Regions from separate parts of the Homo sapiens genome. Here region 2 is linked to region 1. Evidence: promoter capture Hi-C in 16 types of primary human blood cells and fetal thymus (Javierre and others, 2016). All regions are on one chromosome and are shown on one strand. Each heading gives the region's core, a stretch centred on a gene start or on the middle of the fragment in contact. The rest is flanking DNA. Distances are from core to core; before and after follow the strand shown.

Region 1 (4,030 bases), core at 1,436-3,935:
TTCCATTTAGAATGTTACATCTGATAAGATTCAAGAGAATGCACTCCTGCACATATGACCAACTCATCATCCCATCAGAAATCTCTTATAACAGCACCAGAATTTTCATTTTCAAGATACATGAGCTTTTGTCAAATGGTGACATCTCCTCTGTAATATGAATTTTCAATACGATATAAAAAAAGATGGATATATTACACATTTCACAGAGCAAAGAGAACAGAAACCCGTCAATGAACTTAAAATTTGTGACAACCTATCTGAAATTTTACACTAAAAGATCTGTACACTTTCATAAGCCATATAAATGTAAAACAGGTACCAATGTTTTTACTGCCAAAAAGGAATAAAATATTCCTAACAAAGTTCGGTTGTTGCCTTAATATATTTTTAAAATGTATTTTCATTAACATTTCAGTTGTTAAAATGCAATGCTTTACACAACCTTCAAAGTGCAACTGATAAAAACTTGAAATCTATGTAATATACTTCAAAACAAAGCCACTGGCAGATTTTTTCCCCACCATTTCAGTCTGTGCACCAATCTTCAAATGTATGAACGTACAGGTCTTAGTGCAAAATGCAAGTCACTGTTTAAAAAAAGAAAACTTAATAAACACATTATTTTAAAGGTCATCCTAAGTGATTTAGATTTCTTCACTTGAACCTGGTTGCTCTAACAATCTACAGATCCCACTGTACAAAATGACTTAATAAATGCTTTTCTTCCAGAGTAAGTCATTAAGCAAAAAGCACAAATAAGTGAAATGAAAATTTTCCAAGTAATGGAGGAGTTAAATTAACCAGAAATATGGCAATTTGTTTTCATGTAGTAAAACATAAGAGGGAGCATTTATGAAAGCTGGAGGGGGGTGGAGGGGCACAATTTAGATAACGTTACATAAGCATCAATAAAAAAAAGTATGAGTTCGTTGTTAAGCTATTGGATGATAGTTTTGAGCTCAGACCTTTAAAATGTTACAACATTTAAGTCATGTTACTACACATAAATCATCTTCACAGGACACAGAACACAGCTAATTTAAGTTTAATGCTCTCATCTTCGCCAATCTCAGAATATCGAGTTCCTTACCATGATTGTTCGTTAGCTGTATCTTGGAATACAACTAAGTTAATTTTCCTAAAACTACCATCAGCAAAACCAGTTCACTAATGTGTTTTAAAGACGTTACCAAAGGACGTATTAAAATAGTTATTTCTGGGTTGAGGGGGGTGTTTTGGTTTAAAGACCAGCAAACTTCAAAAGAAAACGATGCTAGCTGGCAGGGGTACGTTACGGGTTTTGTCGGGGGCGGGGAGGGGGTGGAGGGAAGCCCAGATTTGGGAAGGAAAGCTCGTTTCACAAGAGATCCCATCTCTCGTTTCAAAAGGTCATTTCCATTCAGCAGATCCTCTTTCCCTATTTCAGAGCTCACCACTGTATTCTAAACAGAAGCCAATAGAGGGAGAAAAACAAAGCCAAGTGCAAAAGCTGTGGGCACTGAAAGTTTTGCTCCACCGGCCGCGCAGCACCCACTTGGGGTCGGGCTTTGGGACTTGGGGGAGTCAGGAGCAGGCGGGGGCTGGGGAGAGGACGAGGCCCTGGGGAGGGGCTGGAAAAGGCTTTTCACAGCGACTGGCACTTGATATTTCCAAGTCTTCTGGATGTCACTCACCGGAAACCAGACCCTGCGGTGCGAAGACTCAGGTACAGACCAGCCCCTTTTTCATCCATGCAATGGGAAGGGGACTCGGGCATCCTTTTAAGGAGCTGAGAAATGGGTCCTCAACTTAAAAATTTTTGTTTGTGCTACTGCGGTATAAAAAAAATAAAACGCAAAGTAGCAGACGGGGTGCAGGCTCTACGGGGCTCCGTTTCCCTCTCCTCCGAGTCTGGCGTGGAGGAGCCCCTGGGCTCCCTAGAGCCCCCAGCAAGGCGCATCCCGACCCGGGCCGGGAAGCGGGGGGACCCCGGACACACTCTCGCTGCTCAAGTTCGCGCCTCCGCGCCCCGAGGCGACGCCCCCGGCCCGCGACCCCGCGCGCACCTACCTTGCGCCAGCGCCCGGAGCAAGTGCAGCTGCAGCGCCAGCAGCGCCCACCAGCCGCGGCGGCCCGGCCCCAACTTTGCCGCCCGCCGCCCGCCGCACCGCCCCGCGCCCGCCGTGTCCCCGCCGGAGGTCTCGGGCGCCGCCCGGGGTCGCGAGGGCTCCGGGCCGGGGCGCGGCGCCAGCGAGGGGCGGGCGCGGCCGGGCGGGGATCCCCGCGGCCGCCCGGGGCCCGCGCGCTCAGGGGGCTCCGCGCCGCCGCCGCCGCCACCGGCCGCCGAGGGCCGGGCGCCCCGGGCCATGCCGAGCAGCCGCCACCCCGAGCGCCGCGCCGGACGGACGGGCGGGCAGGACAGGCGGGACGGCTCCGAGCGGGCGCGGCCACTCCGCGGGAGGCGCGGCGCCCCCCGGCCCGAGGTGAGCGGCCGCCCAGCGCTGAGGGGCGGCGTCCTGGGTCCCCGCGTGAGGGGCGCGGCGCGGGCCGGGGACGAGCCGGGCGAGAAGAAGTTGTCAACGGGGGAAATTCGCGTCCGGCGCTCACGCAGTCCCGAGCCCGCCGCGCTAGCTCCGAGGGGTCCGCCGGGCGCGGAGGAGCCGCCGCCGCCGCCGCCCCCGCCCGGCGCTGAGAAGAAAGTGCGCCCGCCCGCACGTCGCGGTCGCGCTCGCCCTCAGCTGCCGCGGCCGCCGCTCCCCATTCACAGCCCGGCCGCACGCGCCGCCCGCGCCCGCCGCCCGCCGCCCGCCGTTGATTGGCCGAGGGAGGCGGCGCCCGCTCCCAGGGCCCGCCCCCCAGGCCCTCGCTTGTTTTCAAAGTCGCGGCGCCCGCCCGCCTGCAATTTTGTGCCGGCCGCGGCGCCTGGCTCGGGCGGCTTCCCGCGCCGGCTGCGCCCCCTAGGGACCCGTAGTGGGGACTGCAGGCGGCGTCGATTCGGCACGCGCTCCCGTGGCGGGCTCGCGGGCGGGGGTGGTGCATCCTCGCCCGGCCCCGCAGCGGTGCGGGCGCCCGAGTGGGAAGGGCTCAGGTGCAGCAGGACGCGCAGATCGTGCGGCAGCCCAGGGCCGAGGGCGGAATAGGGCGCGCCCCGAGAGGCGCCCGGCTACCACCAGCTAGCTCAGTGCTTGGGGGTGACGCGCCAAGTTACCGTAATTGCAAACACGCGCAATCGGGTTTTTAATTTCTAGCAACCAAAGGCACCACTGGGTGCAAACTCGCCTCCTGTTCAGAGGAGTGGATATGGCATTGTAGAAGCGTCCAAGGTCACTTTTGGCCGGCGCTGGAGGAGGGCGGGGTAGGGAGGGACACATTGCAGGTTTCCCACCGTGGAGTGGGCGAGTCTTGGGGCAGGGTCGGCCAGTGGGAGGGTCTCCCAGGGCGGGACCCGGGAGCCTGTGGGGCTGGGGGTGGGGACGGGCGCCGACGCTCAGCATGTGGTAAGCATTAGCAGAGTTTATGGGGTGAACTAAGCGCACTGGAGGCTGAAAGGCCAGCATTTTTGTGGGAGGAGAGCTGGAGGTGACACGCACTGCCTCTGGAGTTGGCCCGGGAGGAGCCTGGGGACGTGTGATGATGGTCGCATGAGATCATGTAAGAGATGAACGCAGAGGGGCTGGGTGTGAGCCCAGCACGGGGCTGACTCCCCAGGAATCACCTGATGCAGTAGGTTTATTGTCCCAGCCAAGAAAGACCCCGGGCGAGTGGAGAGCAGGTCACAGGGCTGGGGTCTGGGATAGGAGCCAGCTCCTGCTCACAGAGCGCCTATGGTATTTGTCAAATAACTGATTGGTGGCTCAATATTAGCCTCTGTACACGTCCCCTAAGACTTAACAATGACCACGTGAACAAAACAGGGAAACTGAGGTCCAAGTACAGCCGCCGAACAGGAGGTGGTTTCAGAAAGAGGCCTCCCATCTGCCCCCTTTCCACACCATGCTAGGAGGGGCAAAAAAGTTAAAGGAGCCACGGAGTGCCCTGTTCTGAGGAT
Region 2 (3,665 bases), core at 130-2,629, 1.2 Mb before region 1:
TCTCCCCCTCCTCTCTCCCTTTCCTCTCTCTCTCTTATCATTCCCTGCTCTTTTTCTTATTTCTCCCTGCTCTCTTTCTCTCTCTTGTCTCTCTCCCCTCCTGTCTCCCCCCTTTCTCTCTCTCCTCTCCTACCTCCCCCTTTTCTCTCTCCCCCTTCCCATTCTCTCTCCCTGCCTTCTCTCCCTCTTCTCTCTCTCCCTCTACTTCTGTCTCTGAAACCAACCTAGTAGTCCCATAGACAAGTTTTTTTGTTTTTTGGATAAACATAGAAGTTGACCCATCTGATCAAGTTCTTAAAGCTTGAAACTTGGCTTTGTTTTATCTGAGTTCCTGTTTTCTTACACATAGTTACATTTCTTCCCTGCTAAAGAAAGGCCTTTAGTGGGTCAAGAAGATGGATTTGAGACTGAGCTCCCATCTCAGCTGCTGCACCCGATTAAAGCCTTCTCCCTCAGCAACACTCATTGTCTCAGTGATTGGCTTTCTGTGCAGTGAGCAGCAGGGCCTAGACCAAACCCCTGGTGTTTTGGTAACATCTCTCCCCCTCTCTCTTGTCTTTCCCTCTTCTCTCTCTTTCCCTCCCTCTCCTCTTTCTCTCTTTCTCCCTTTCTCTCCACCTTCTGCAACTCTATACAGACTCCCTACTGGGGGCTCTTCCCCGGCAGTTCCCTTAGCAGAGGCAGATGCATATCTCTTCTGGGCAGTTGTTCCAGATTGCTACTGCTACCCAACAAATCAACCCTAAGCTTAGCAGCTCACAACGACCATTTTTGTTTTGCTTATGATTTCATGGGTAAGGAATTTGGGAAGGGTTTGGTGGGGCGGTTCTTGTGCAGGGCCTCTCATGGGGTCACCAGCCCAGAGTGCTGGGGCTACAGCATCTCCAGGCTGCATGGGGCTGGATGTCCAAGGTGGTGCACATGGAGGGCTCAGGTGGGCTGTGGATTAGATGCCCACAGGTGGCCTTTCCAGACAGCTGGGCTCTGAGAGGTGTCCCAGGGACTGGCACTCATGCCCAGAGATCCAGGTAGCCATGTCCTCAGACTCCTCAGGCACATAAGTCAACCAGCTGGGGGTTAGGACACATCACACGTCTTAGGAATTGCTGGGCTTCCTTCCCCTAGGACTTTTCCTCTTGCTTTCCTACAATTTGCTACTTTCCAGCTATATAAGGAGATTTTTAAGCAATGGAGAGAGAAGTCTGTCCTCTTATTTATTTATTTATTTATTATTAGTATATATATATTTCTTTTAGAAACAGAGACAGGGAGGCCAGGTGCAGTGGCTCACACCTGTAATCTCAGCACTTTGGGAGGCCGAGGCGGGTGGATCACCTGAAGGCAGGAGTTTGAGACCAGCCTGGCCAACATGGTGAAACCCCGTGTCTACTAAAAATACAAAAAAAAAAAAAAAAAATAGCTGGGTGCGGTGGCCGGCGCCTATAATTCCAGCTTGGGAGGCTGAGGCAGGAGAATTGCTTGAACCTGGGAGGCAGAGGCTGCAGTGAGCCAAGATCACACCATTGCACTCCAGCCTGGGGCACAGAGTGAGACTCCATCTTAAAAAAAAAAAAAAAAGGAAATAGAGACAGGAATCTCACTGTGTTGCCCAAGCTGGTCTTGAACCTTGGACTCAAGCAATCCTCTTGCCTCAAACTCCCAAAATGCTGGGATTCCAGGCGTGAGGCACCGTGCCTGGCCCATCTGCTTCAATTTAATCTTGGACAGCCGCTCTGCAAAGAGAATTCTAGAAAGAAACTGTGCCCCTGTGAGGCAGGAAAGTGGCTCTTCTGTCCAGTCCAGTGTCCCAGCATAAGCTCTTTCTAACTAAAATCCGAATCTAAAACCAGAAACCAGATTACTTAGCAAAATGCCATTAAATACAATTTGGGGTACATGTCAATATCTTTTAAGCCCCTTACCAAGCTGTCCTGAATCCTCCCTCCAGCACTGTTCAGTCTCAAGATTACAGCAATTGTCCCCTTCCCTCCCCAAACCCAGCAAAGCTTGGCTCATGGTGGGTGTCTTTGCCTGCCTGGCTTTTTGTGTCTAAAATTGAACCGTGATACTTCAGTGTCATTGCAGAATTCCACCTGAGTTTCCCCACATTTTAGTCATTGCTTAAGAACTAAGGCCTTTCTTTTCTTTTTTTAAAAAACCTTTTATTTTCAGTGCAGGGGTACTTGTATAGGTTTGCTGTATAGGTGTATTCATCCATTTTCATGCTGCTGATAAAGACACACCCAAGACTGGGGGCCGGGCACGGTGGCTCATGCCTGTAATCCCAGCACTTTGGGAGGCCCAGGCGAGTGGATCACAAGGTCAAGAGATCGAGACCAGCCTGGCTAACATGGTGAAACCCCATCTCTACTAAAAATACAAAAACTAGCTGGGCATGGTGGTGGGCACCTGTAGTCCCAGCTGCTTGGGAGGCTGAGGCAGGAGAATCGCTTGAACCCGGGAGGCGGAGGTTGCAGTGAGCCGAGATCACGCCACTGCATTCCAGCCTGGCGACTAAGTGAGACTCCGTCTGGAAAAAAAAAAAAAAAAAAAAAAAAAGATGTACCCGAGACTGGGCAATTATTTATTTATTTTACTTTAAGTTCTGGGATACATGTGCAGAACATGCAGGTTTGTTACGTAAGTATACATGTGTCATGGTGGTGTGCTGCACCTATCAGCCTATCATCTAGGTTTTAAGCCCCACATGCATTAGGGATTTGTCCTAACGCTCTCCCTCCTCTTGTCCCCCACCCCCCAACAGGTCCCAGTGTGTGATGTTCCCCTCCCTGTGTCCATGTGTTCTCATTGTTCAACTCCCACTTATGAGTGAGAACAAGCCGTGTTTGGTTTTCTGTTCCTGCATTAGTTTGCTGAGAATGATGGTTTCCAGCTTCATCCATGTCCCTGCAAAGGATATGAGCTCATTCTTTTTTATGGCTGCATAGTATTCCATGGTGTATATGTGCCACATTTTCTTTAGTCTATCATCGATGGACATTTGGGCTGGTTCCAAGTCTTTGCTATTGTAAATAGTGCTGCAATAAACATACATGTGCATGTAAGAATGAGTATTTTATAAAGAAAAAGAGGTTTAATGGGCTCACAGTTCCACGTAGCTAGGGAGGCCTCACAATCATGGTGGGAGGTGAAAGGCACGTCTTACATGGTGGCAGACAAGAGAGAAAGAGAGTCAAGCAAAAGGGGAGACCCCTTATAAAATCATCATATGTTGTGAGACTTACTCACTACCATGAGAACAGAATGGGAGAAACCGCCCTCATGATTCAGTTATCTCCCACTGGGTCCCTCCCACAACACGTGGGAATTATGGGAGCTACAATTCAAGATGAGATTTGGATGGGGACACAGCCAAACCATATCCACAAGTGAACTCGTGTATATACCCAAAGGAATATAAATCATACCATAAAGACACACAGAACTCCTTCACAGTGTGCAACTTTCAGAGGCTATGGGATGGGGCCACTTCCCAGAAAGGAGAGGGCAAAGGAACTCCTGGTGGAGAGGGGATCAGAGAGTGGGTCTGATGAAGTCTAGATGATGTCACGCATATGTTCACTGCAGCACTATTCACAATAGCCAGGACATGGAATCAACCTAAATGCCCATTAATAATAGACCGGATAAGGAAAATGTGGTAC

The links. Contacts are between HindIII fragments. The CHiCAGO score rates a contact against its expected background, and 5 or more counts as called.
Region 2: a contact is called between a fragment that was not itself captured here and the fragment with the promoter of SDK1 in region 1, in 3 of 17 cell types (endothelial precursors, M2 macrophages and M1 macrophages). The highest score is 8.7, in endothelial precursors.

What each region holds. Positions count from the first base shown.
Region 1 is chr7:3,299,907-3,303,936 of GRCh38, reverse strand. SDK1 (sidekick cell adhesion molecule 1) reads right to left here and starts at 2,685. Exons shown (of 45, transcript NM_152744.4): 1 at 2,053-2,685. The coding sequence starts at 2,350. It overlaps SDK1-AS1 (SDK1 antisense RNA 1), which reads left to right. Exons shown (of 3, transcript XR_001744897.3): 1 at 1-1,708. RefSeq lists enhancers at 1,884-2,384, 3,094-3,605, 3,606-4,030 and a silencer at 2,659-3,208. The HindIII fragment of the contact is 8,975 bases long and covers 1-4,030 here.
Region 2 is chr7:4,480,842-4,484,506 of GRCh38, reverse strand. No RefSeq gene overlaps it. Among named protein-coding and RNA genes, the nearest start is that of FOXK1, 200 kb to the left of the region's middle. The HindIII fragment of the contact is 1,259 bases long and covers 750-2,008 here.